Linked DNA regions of Homo sapiens: all the other regions are linked to region 4. Evidence: promoter capture Hi-C in human tissues and cell types (Jung and others, 2019). All regions are on one chromosome and are shown on one strand. Each heading gives the region's core, a stretch centred on a gene start or on the middle of the fragment in contact. The rest is flanking DNA. Distances are from core to core; before and after follow the strand shown.

Region 1 (2,700 bases), core at 152-2,651, 270 kb before region 4:
TTTATAGTTAGGTCTCTGATCTATTTTCAGCCAATTTTTGTGAAAGGTGTAATGTGTGTGTCAACATTCATTTCTTTGCTTATGGACATCCAGTTGTTCCAGAACCATTTGTTAAAAAGACTCTTTTCTCCACTGTATTCCCTTTGCTCACTTGTGAAAGATCAGCCGACTGTATCTTTGTGGGTCTGTTTCATCAATCCATTTGTCTTTCTTTCACCAGTACCTCAGTGTCTTAATTACTGTCGCTTTAGTTAAGTCTTGAGGTCGGGTACTGTCCATCCTCCAGCTTCTTTCTTCTCCTTCAGTATTTTGTTGGGTATTCGGGGTCATTGCCTCTCCATATAAACTTTAAAGTCAGTTTGTCAGTATCCACAAGATAACTTGCTAGGATTTTGATTAGGATTGCATTGAATGTGTAGATCAAATTGGGAAGAACTGACACCTTGAAAGACTTGATTCTTCCTATCCATGTACATAGAATATCTCTCTGTTTCATTCTTCCTTGACTTTGTTGATCAGAATTTTGTAGTTTTCCTGATAGAGATCTTATCTATATATAGTTAGATTTATACAAAAGTATTTTATTTGGCACAGGTAATGTAAGTGATACTATGTTTTTAATTCCAAATTCCACTTGTTCATTGCTGGTATATAGGAAAGCAGTTGACTTTGTGTATTAACCTTGCATGCTGAAAACTTGCTGTAGTTCCAGGAGGCACTTGGTCGGGGCAGTCCAATTCTTTTGGATTTTCTACACAGACAATTATGTCATCTGCAAAGAGTTTTATTTCTTCGCTCCCAATCAGTATACTTTTTATTTCCTTTTCTTACTGCATTAGTTGAGACTTCCAGTATGATGTTGAAAAGGAGTGGTGAGAGGATGTCCTTGCCTTGTTCCTGATCTTAATGGGAAAGCTTTGCATTTCTCACCATTATTATAGATTTTCTGTGTCAAGTTGAAGTTCCCCTTTATTCCTAGTTTGCTGAGTTTTATCATGAATAAGTATTGAATTTTTGTCAGATGCTTTTTCTGCATCTGTTGATACGCTCACGTAATTTTTTTGTTGTTGCTGTGATGGGTTACATTGATTTTCAAATCCCAGTAGTCTGGGGTAAATCCCAATAGTCTTGCTGTAGAATTCTTTTTATGCATTGTAGCTTTCAGTTGGATAAGATTTGGTTGACGATTTTGCATCTGTGTTCATGAGAGATATTGGTCTATAGTTTTCTTATTTTCATCTGGTTTGTGTAATAGAGTGATGCTGGTCTCATAGAATGAGCTTGGAAGTATTCCCTCTGCTTCTGTCTTCTGAAGGAGATGATAGAAATTTCATATAATTTCTTCCTTAAATATTTGGCAAAATTCACCAGTAAACTCATCTGGGCTTGATGCTTTCTGCTTTGGAAAGTTGTTTATTATTGATTCAATTTCTTCAATAGATATTGGCCTATTTAGACAAACTGGTTCTTATATGAGTTTCAGCAGATTGTGTCTTTGAAGGAATTGGTCCATTTCATCTGGGTTATCACATTTGTGGGCATAGAGTTGTTCATAGTATTCCCTTATTATCCTTTTAATGTCTATGGGATCTGTAGTGATGTCCCCTCTCATTTTTTGATATTAGCAGTTTGTGTCCTTTTTTTTTTTTTCTTACCCTGGCTAAAGAGATATCAATTTTCTTTCTTTTCAAAGAACTAGCTTCTGGCTTCCTTACTTTTCTGTATTGATTTCCTATTTTCAATTTCATTGTTTTCATCTCTAATTTTTTTTATCACTTCTACTTAGTGATTGTTGTTTTTTGAGATGGAATCTCACTCTGTCACCCAGGCTAGAGTGCAGTGGTGCAATCTTGGCTCACTGCACCCTCCACCTTCTGGGTTCAAGTGATTCTCCTGCCTCAGCCTCCTGAGTAGCTGGGACTACAGGCATGCACCACCACGCCCAGCTAATTTTTGTATTTTTAGTAGAGACGGGGTTTCACCACATTGGCCAGTCTGGTCTCAAACTCCTGACTTCAGGTGATCTGCCTGCCTTGGCCTCCTAAAGTGCTGGGGATTACAGGCGTGAGCCACCGCACCCAGCCTATTACTTCTACTTTGAATTTAATTTGTTATTCTTGTCTTATTCAGGTGGAAGCTTCAGTTATTGATTTTAGATCTTTTCTAATATATGCATTCAGTACTCTGAATTTCTCTGCAGTACTGCTTTTGCTGCATCCCACAAATTTTGGTAACTTGTGTTTTCATTTTCATTTACTTCAAAATATTTTTAAATTTCTCTTGGTATTACTTCTTTGTCCTGTATGTTATTTAGAAATGTGTTGTTTAATTGCTGCATGTTTTTGTGATTTTTCAGTTATCTTTCTATTACTGATTTTTGCTGTAATTTCACTGTGATCTGAGAGCAGACACTGCATGATTTCTCCTCTTTTAAGTTTGCTGAGGTGTGATTGATGGCCTGTCTGCATGAATGTTCCTGTGAGCCTGAGAAGAACGTTACTGTGCTGCTGGTGGATAACATTGTCTGTAGATGTTAATGATATCCAGTTGATTGATGGTAGTGTTGAGTTTGACCATATGCTTACTGATTTTATACCTACTGACCACCCTGTCTCCTCCCCTCCTTATAGCCCTTGCTGAATTTGGGGTTGTTTTGATTTTTGCCTTTTTGTTTTGTTTTTTTGGCTGACTGCACCATGA
Region 2 (2,700 bases), core at 3-2,502, 380 kb before region 4:
TGTGCGCGTGGGCTCAGGGCTCGTGACCCTCTGTTCCGGCCCACGCTTCTGACCGGTGATTAGAAAGCGGCACGTTCTATCCTCGGCCCTGTCAGCCCTGCAGGGCGCACCAGCTGCTCTCACGGGCCACAGAATCACAGATGCGGTCCTCACCTCTCGGGAGCGGCCTTCTCCTAGACAGCACACGAGCCATCTACGTTTTCCCGGTTGTCTTTTTCATTCCAAAGTCCACATGTGCGCTACCACCTCCTTTAAAACATAAAAACAGAAAAGCAAAACGACGAAAAAGGTAGCAGTTCCCTTTAGCCACAGTGCAGCGCATTTGTTTTCATTATTCCTCCGTTTTACTGAGAGTAATGTGCCATCCAGACAAGCCCATGGGAGCGGTAAAAAGAGTCAGGGAATAGTCGATTGAGCTGGAACGGCCCCCATGCTCACGCACCTTATAGAGCAGATTCAACTGGCCTGTGTGTTAGGATGCACGGTGCAAACTGTTCTGACGGTAATCCATCATGGAATAGCATCTTCCATGCAGATGTACTTTTTGCTTATAGACACCTTGTCTTACGGAGCTCTCTCCCCACAATGACAAGATTCTGACAGTGGAGGCATCGCTTTCTCCGCGTCACATCAGCAGGGCCCCTCCACTCACGGGGACTTTCCACATTTTGCTCTTTTTCTCTGCCTCATGTATCGAAATAAAAGCAACCGCAAACACATGCCTCTTCTGGAATGCGTGCTCTGTCTCAAAACCCAGCCCAAAAGGAAGAAGAGGAGGAAGAGGAGGAGGAGGGGGAGGAAGAAACTGGTTTTCCCTGTTGGCCTATTTTATGCAGTTAAAAACACACCGAAGAAAAATCGGAGGGGATGTCTACTTATGGCAGTAAGGCAGGCCAGACACTTGGAAGGGTCCTCACCAACAAAACCATCCGATCCTGCCTGAGACTTGGTTTTCCTGCCAGTATTGGGCTTGAATGAAATAAGGGACTTCTTCAAGGCTCCCTTCGTGACCTGAATTCAGAGGAGGGAAATCCCATAATGAAATGGAAAAGGTGAGGTTGCCCTGGGAGGACTTGCCACATCAGAGCCACCTAAAGGTTGTCTGGGCCAGGAGGTGAGCTGGGGCTCCAGGCCCAGCAGAGGAGGCAAATGTGCTCCCCACTGGGGTCCCCAGCTTGAGCCAGTAGTAAACACCACCGGGTTCTCACAGAGTGACATCAGGCAAACCTGAGCTCACGGCCAAAGAGCAGCAAACACACGCAGAGGAACGCGTCCGTGAGCAAAAGTCAGCACGCACGACCCGAACACAAAACAGACTCAGACCCGCAGAGGCACCAAAATTAGAGGTTAGAGCTGGAGAAATTGTGCAGAATGCATAACAGAAAAACAGGGAGGCAAAAAATATTTGAAAGATTAAGAGGAAGAGATTATAGAATAAGGTCTAACGAATATCTATTCATAGTTCTAGGAAGTGAGACCAAAAAGGAAGAGGGAAAAATGATTAATTAAAGAGATGATGCTTGAAAACCTGCAAGAATTGATGAGAGTCGTGAATACACAATAAATTCCAAACAGAGTAAATAAAAAGAAATCCACCCATAGACACATGCAAGAAATCCACCCATAGACACTTCCATTGACATGCAAGAAAATGTCAGAACACTGAGGCCAGGCACGGTGGCTCACGCCTGTACTCCCAGCATTTCGGGAGGCTAAGGCGGGTGGATCACCTGAGGTCAAGGGTTTGAGACCAGCCTGGCCACCATGGTGAAACCTTGTCTGTGCTAAAAATACAAAAATTAGCTGGGCATGGTCGCGGGCACCTGTAATCCCAGCTACCTGGGAGGCTGAGGCAGGAGGCTAAGGTTGCAGTGAGCCAAGATCGCTCCATTGCACTCCAGTCTGGGCGACAAGAGCGAAAACTCCGTCTCAAAAAAGAAAAAAAAAAAATTCAGGGCACCGAAGACAAACAGAAGACAGATCACCTATAAAGCCAACAATAAGACTAACAGATTTTATTTTCTTCTTTTTTTTTTTTGTTTTGGTTTTATTCAAGACAGAGTCTTGCTCTGTCACCCAGGTTGGAGTCCAGTGGCACAGTCTTGGCTCACTGCAACCTCCACCTCACAGGTTCAAGCCATTCTCATGCCTTGGCCTCCCGAGTAGCTAGGATTACAGGAGTGTGCCATTATGCCTGGCTAATTTTTGTATTTTCGGTAGAGACAGGATTTCACCATGTCGGCCAGGCTGGTCTTGAACTCCTGACCTCAGGTGATCCACCCTCCTCGGCCTCCCAAAATGTTGGGATTACAGGCGTGAGCCACTGTGCCATGCCCAGATTTTCGACAGCAAAAATAGAAACTGGAATCCAGTGGAATCATGTCTTCTAAAAACAAATTGTCATTCTACTGCTGTCTACCCAAACCGTCTTTCCACAATGAGAGCAAATAAAACATTCTCAAAGAAACAGAAACTGAGAGTTAAACTCCAATAAAACTTTCCTAAAGGAGTTCTAAAGAATGTTCTCTAAGCAGGTGGAAACTAATCCCATAAGGGCATGATAGACTTATGCATAACATCGTGTGGTGTGTAGCATGTATTATGCAGCGTGTATTACGTAGCGTGTATTACGCAGCATTACGTAGCGTGTATTACGTAGCGTGTATTACACAGTGCGTATTACGCAGCGTGTATTACGCA
Region 3 (2,860 bases), core at 150-2,649, 330 kb before region 4:
AGCCTGGGTGGGAGGTGACCAGCGTACATTCTCCAGGGGAAACACGGGGAAATGCAGGGTGAGGGCAGAACCCTGTTTAATGCACACGAAACCCTTCCTGTGCCTCAGCTGTGTCCTCAGGATGGAACCAGAGAAGCTGAATTTCTAGACCGAAGGCTTTGAATGTCTGTGCCCAGAGGCTTGCGCAGAGGCTTGTGTCGGCCTAGACGGTGGCCATCAGGGAGGCCCTCACCAACACTGAGTTGTTTTTTAAGTGTTTGCTATTGAACAGTATGTGGACTCTGGCGTTAGATTTGGGATTTCAGAGGCCCATCAGTTCTGACCTTACCAGTTCTAAAGGTTCCTGGGGATCCTGCAGGTCCCAATAGCAGACACCCAGCAGGCTGGAGGATGCACCACGGAGCCGGGCATCCTCCGCTGCTGAATGCCGGGGCGTGGTACCAACAGCTGGGACAGATTGATGACAGTTACACATAAGTCAAATTTGTGACAAGCTTCATCTGGAAGAAGTTTGGTTAAGTTTGGCCTTGTAAGTCAGTCAGGTGGTCAGGGTGAGCTGCACAGACCCCCCAGGTGGCACAAACTCTCGCGTTTTATGCTGTTTGCAGAATGGAGAGAATCGAGTAACTGCCGTGCTGCACAGGAGTTTGTTTAGGGCCGGAATTCAGGTCTAACCCACAAAACAGCTTCTATTTCTGGCTGTGTTAGTCATTTGTGTGTCTCGTGGCATCTTACACAGCAGTCTATTCTTCTGTGCAGTATAAACTGTGACTAGATATTTTCAGATTGCTTCGTTCATACCCGCTACTCTACTCACTAAGGTTTTTTGTTTGTTTGTTTTTGAGACAGAGCCTCACTCTGTCACCCAGGCTGGAGTGCAGTGGCAGGATCTTGGCTCACTGCAAGCTCTACCTCCCGAGTTCACGCCATTCTCCTCCCTCAGACTCCCAAGTAGCTGGGACTACAGGTGCCCGCCACCACACCTGGCTAATTTTTTGTATTTTTTTTAGTAGAGACGGGGTTTCACCGTGTTAGCCAGGATGGTCTCAATCTCCTGACTTTGTGATCCGCCTGCCTCGGCCTCCCAAAGTGCTGGGATTACAGGCATGAGCCACCGCGCCCGCCCAAGGTTTTTTTTTTAATGCCTATTTTCTGACAAACTAGGTATTTTGAAGGATGTAAGGACTTTATGAAAATACATTCTGCACACATATACCTTCATGAGTTGCTGTGGCTGTTTCCTGCTTTTATTGTGCCTTTGAAGTTGGGCATTGAGTGAGTTTTACAGGCACACCTCATTTTATGGTGCTTCACTGATACTGTGTTCACAGGGAGGAGGCTCGGAGCAACCTGGCGAGCACGTCTGCAGGTGCCATTTTCCAGCAGCATGTGCCCCCAGGTGTTGTGCCACGCTCTGGAAATTTCCCGTGTACTTCAGCCTCCTCGTTAGTGCTCTGCTGTTACAGGGAGCTGTAGTCAGTGATCTTTGAGGTCACTGTTGTCATAGTTGCTTCATCAGTGTTCTGTCAGCTATAGGGATTTGTGGTCAGTGATCTTTGAGGTCACTGTTGTCATTGTTTTGGGGTGCCACGAACCACACCCACATAAGACGGCAAACGTAATGGGTAGATGTGTGTGTCCTGACTGCTCCACCAACTGGCCATTCCCTGTCTCTGTCCCGGTGCTCAGGCCTCCCTATTCCCTGAGACATAACAGTATTGAAATTAGGCCAGCGTAGTAACCCTACAGTGACCTCTGAGTGTTCAAGTGGGAGGAAGGCTCACCAGTCTCTCACTTTAAATCAAAAGGTAGACGTGATTATGCTTAGTGAGGAATGCACGCCAGAAGCCAGGAAAGGCTGCAAGCTGGTCCTCTTGCACTAAACAGCCAAGGTGTGAATGCAAAGGAAAAGTTCTTGAAGCAAACTAAAAATACTACTTCAGTGAACACACAGATGATGAGACAGTGAAACAGCCTTATTGCTGAGAAAGAGAAAGTTTTAGTGGTCTGAGTAGAAGATCAAACCAGTCACAACATTCCCTTAAGCCAAAGCCTAATCCAGAGCAAGGCCCCAACTGTCTTCAATTCTGTGAAGGTTGAGAGGGGTGAGGAAGCTGCAGAAGAAAAGCTGGAAACCAGCACAGGTTGGTTCATGAGGGTGAAGGAAGAAGCCGTCTCCGTAACACAAAAGTGAAGGTGAAGCAGCAGGTGCTGTTGGAGAAACTGCGGCAAGTTCCCCTGGAGATAGGCTGAGATCACTGATGAAACTAAACACGCTAAACAACAGATTTTCAGTGCAGACAAAACAGCCTTCTGTTGGAAGAAGATGCCGTCTAGGACTTTCATAGCTGGAGAGGAGAAGTCAGTGTCTGGCTTCAAAGGACAGGCTGACTCTCTCGTTGGAGACTAACTAATGCAGCTGGTGACTTTAAGTTGAAGCCAGTGCTCATTTGCCATTCTGAAAATCCCAGGGCCCTTAAGAATGATGCTAAATCTCCTCTGCCTGTGCTCCATCCATGGAACAACAAAGGCTGGATGACAGCACCTCTGTTCACAGCATGGTTTACTGACCATTCTAAGCCCGCTCTTGAGACCTGTTACTCAGAAAGAGAGATTCTTCTAAGAAATATTCCTGCTCATTGACCATGCACCTGGTCACCCAAGAGCTCTGATGGAGACGTACAGGAGAGGAATGTTGTTTTCATGCTGCTGACACCACATCCACCCTGCAGCCCAGGGCTCAAGAAATGATTTCCAGCTTCAAGTCTTATTATTTAAGAACTACATCTCCTGGCCAGGCGCGGTGGCTCACACCTATAATTCCAGCACTTTGGGAGGACAAGGCGGGTGGATCACGAGG
Region 4 (2,700 bases), core at 199-2,698:
CGTTTGTTTGTGAAAACTCTGCTTCTCAATACTCCGCCCTTTCCCCTTTAAATCTGGGGCCCTCAAAATCATTTTTGGAGAAAGGCGTAGACCTGTCTCCTGGGTGCGTCCTTAACTTTGGCAAATAAATCTCCTAAAATGATTAGAGACTTGTCTCGTCGTTTTCTTCGATTGACAATATATACACACATACATACGCATACACACACACATATATACGCGCACGCACATGCACACATATACATGTCCACACACATGCACACACACGTACATATGCACACATACACATGTACACATCCACACGCGCCCACACACACACACACACACAGACGTGTCTCACACCACAGCAGCCGCCTCGGGGGAGTCACAGCCCACGCATCCCCAACACTGCGGTCGCGCTCACTTCTCTTTCCACGCCCGGGGGGAGCAGCTTCCCCGCTGGGCCACGCTGACTCTGGGGAGGCGGGCGGGGCGAGACCACTTCTGGGGAGGACGCCCAATCTGGGGACTTTCTCTAGGTGCCCGGGGAGAAGGCGGCGCAGCAGCAAAGCCCTGGAGGGCCCAGTGGCGGAAACAGACGGACCCCTCGCAGCCTCCCGCCGACAGCGGCCCTGCCCAGGTCTCCAGGCTTCGATGCCTTCGTTGCTTTGTGCGGCGCACCCGCCTACGTCAGTTCCCAGTATTTAAACAAAACGTGTTCCTAGCTACGCAGCGCCAGGCAACCAGGCGGTTCCCACGCTTCCCCGAGTGGCACACCCTCCGCGCAGCCCACGCGGCCTCCCCACGCCCAGCTCCCGCCGGCCCCGCCTCGCGTCGTCCTTCGCCCCGCCCCCGTTGCCGCCCCCCCCGCCCGCACACTGCCCACCTGGCGTTGTCTTCACCCCGCTTACACGCCGCTCGCTTCGCTCTGGTAGTCGCCCACCTCGCGCTGCCCTTCTCGCTTCAGTCTTCGCCCTGCCCACCCACCGCCCACCTCGCGCCAGTCTTCGCCCCGCCCATTCACCGCCCGCCTCGCGTCAGTCTTCGCCCCGCCCAACCACCGCCCGCTTCGCGTCGGTCTTCACCCCGCCCACTCGCCGTTCGCCTCGCGCCTTCGCCCCTCCGCCGTTGTCGCCCCGCCCCTTCTTGCGTCCAGTCTTTGCCCCGTCCCTCGCCGTCGCCCCGTCCACACGCCGTCAGCTTCGCGTCTGTCCTCGCCCCGCCCACCTACCGCCCCCCTCGGGCCTTCGCCCCTCCGCCGTCGTTGCCCCGCCCGCCTTGCACCCCGTCTTCGTCCCGCCCCGCGCCGTGGCCCCGCCCACACGCCGTCAGCTTCGCGTCTGTCCTCGCCCCGCCCTGCATCATCGCCCCGCCCTGCATCATCGCCCCGCCCACACGCCGCCTGCCAGGCGTGAGTCTTCCTCCCGCTCTGCGCCGTCGCCCCGCCCACACGCCGCCACCCTCGCGTCAGTTGTCGCTCCGCGCCTGCGCCCGTTGTCTCCCTGCTCGCTCCGGGTCCCGGCGCCGCGCCATGTGGGCTGCGGCGGGCGGGCTGTGGCGCTCCCGCGCGGGTCTCCGGGCCCTGTTCCGTAGCCGCGATGCTGCGCTATTTCCAGGCTGCGAGCGGGGACTTCACTGCTCTGCTGTCTCCTGCAAGAACTGGCTCAAGAAATTTGCCTCGAAAACCAAGTAATGCGGCGGGGGCGGTGTCCCTGGGCGCGGTATTCCCTAGGGGGCGGTGTCCCCGGGTTGCGGTGTCCGCTCATCCGCGTTCTTGCGCCCATGCGGCCTAGCTCGCCAGTTCCTGCCTCCTGGGGTCTGCAGCAGTTCTAGCTCTCACTGTCAGCATTTGCAGCTTTTGTGTTCGTGGACGTGTGTCGGGTTAAGAAAACAAAGTGACAATGTGTGTTTATTTTGATTCTTGTCACCAGACGTATTTTTCAGAAGATTAGTTTCAGAAAATGAGGAAAAATGAAAAAATATAAGAATTTCCTTGCTAATGTTGACTTTCTGTGTGAATTTGAAGACTAAAGCTTGTCATGATAATTAGTGTTTTTAAATTATGAAAGATAAGTACAATAAAATACATTGACTTTTCACACTGCTTTTAGTTCTTCTAAGTATGGTAGGTGGTTGTATGTTTTCTACTTTAATACACTACTTTTAAAGACAGTTTTAGACCCTGCAGAAAAATTGCAAAAATAGTACCGCGTTCCTGTGTCCTGGCACCCAGCTCCCCCTGTGTTAGCGTCGGACTTTAGCTTCCAACGTGTTCCAGTTAATGAGCCGATATTGATAAGAGTGTTGCTAACTGAAGCTCATACTTTATTCACTTTTCCTTGGTTCTGCCTGCTGTCCCTTCCTGTCCCAGGTGCCCACCCAAGGTCCACGTTACATTGAATTGTCTTGTTTCCTTAGGCTGGGGTAGTGTCCCAGACTGTCCCTGGTTTTGATGGCTGTGCCAGTTTTGAGGGGTACTGGTCAGGTGCTTTGCAGGATGCCTCTCTGTTGGAATGTGCCTGTTTTTTTAATGCTTAGACGTGGATTATGGCTTTTGGGGAGGAAGACTACAGAGGTAAAGGCCATTCTCATCGCACCGTATCCAGGGTCCACGCTGGCCGTGATCCCCTGCATGAGGTGCTTGCCAGGTTTCTCTACCGTAAAGTTACTCTTTTTGCCCCCTTTCCTTACTGTACTCTGGGAGAAAGTCGCTGTGTGCAG

Evidence for each region. The method cuts DNA at HindIII sites, captures the fragments that hold promoters and counts their contacts. A contact is called where the count stands out against the background at its distance.
Region 1: a fragment that was not itself captured here is called in contact with the fragment with the promoter of RBFA in region 4 in 3 of the 25 tissues and cell types used here (IMR-90 fibroblasts, lymphoblastoid cells and mesenchymal stem cells).
Region 2: a fragment that was not itself captured here is called in contact with the fragment with the promoter of RBFA in region 4 in 2 of the 25 tissues and cell types used here (lymphoblastoid cells and spleen).
Region 3: a contact is called between a fragment that was not itself captured here and the fragment with the promoter of RBFA in region 4, in 1 of the 25 tissues and cell types used here (lymphoblastoid cells).

Annotation. Positions count from the first base shown.
Region 1 is chr18:79,758,063-79,760,762 of GRCh38, forward strand. No RefSeq gene overlaps it. Among named protein-coding and RNA genes, the nearest start is that of KCNG2, 39 kb to the right of the region's middle. The HindIII fragment of the contact is 3,286 bases long and covers 1-2,700 here.
Region 2 is chr18:79,650,041-79,652,740 of GRCh38, forward strand. All of the region lies in intron 2 of CTDP1-DT (CTDP1 divergent transcript), which reads right to left. Among named protein-coding and RNA genes, the nearest start is that of CTDP1-DT, 28 kb to the right of the region's middle. The HindIII fragment of the contact is 4,983 bases long and covers 1-2,700 here.
Region 3 is chr18:79,698,437-79,701,296 of GRCh38, forward strand. All of the region lies in intron 4 of CTDP1 (CTD phosphatase subunit 1), which reads left to right. Among named protein-coding and RNA genes, the nearest start is that of CTDP1, 20 kb to the left of the region's middle. RefSeq lists an enhancer at 1-368. The HindIII fragment of the contact is 9,627 bases long and covers 1-2,860 here.
Region 4 is chr18:80,032,986-80,035,685 of GRCh38, forward strand. RBFA (ribosome binding factor A) reads left to right here and starts at 1,449. Exons shown (of 7, transcript NM_024805.3): 1 at 1,449-1,668. The coding sequence starts at 1,511. It also overlaps a transcript of TXNL4A not described here. RefSeq lists silencers at 735-904, 936-1,092, 975-1,294, 1,305-1,384, 1,495-1,644. The HindIII fragment of the contact is 12,317 bases long and covers 1-2,700 here.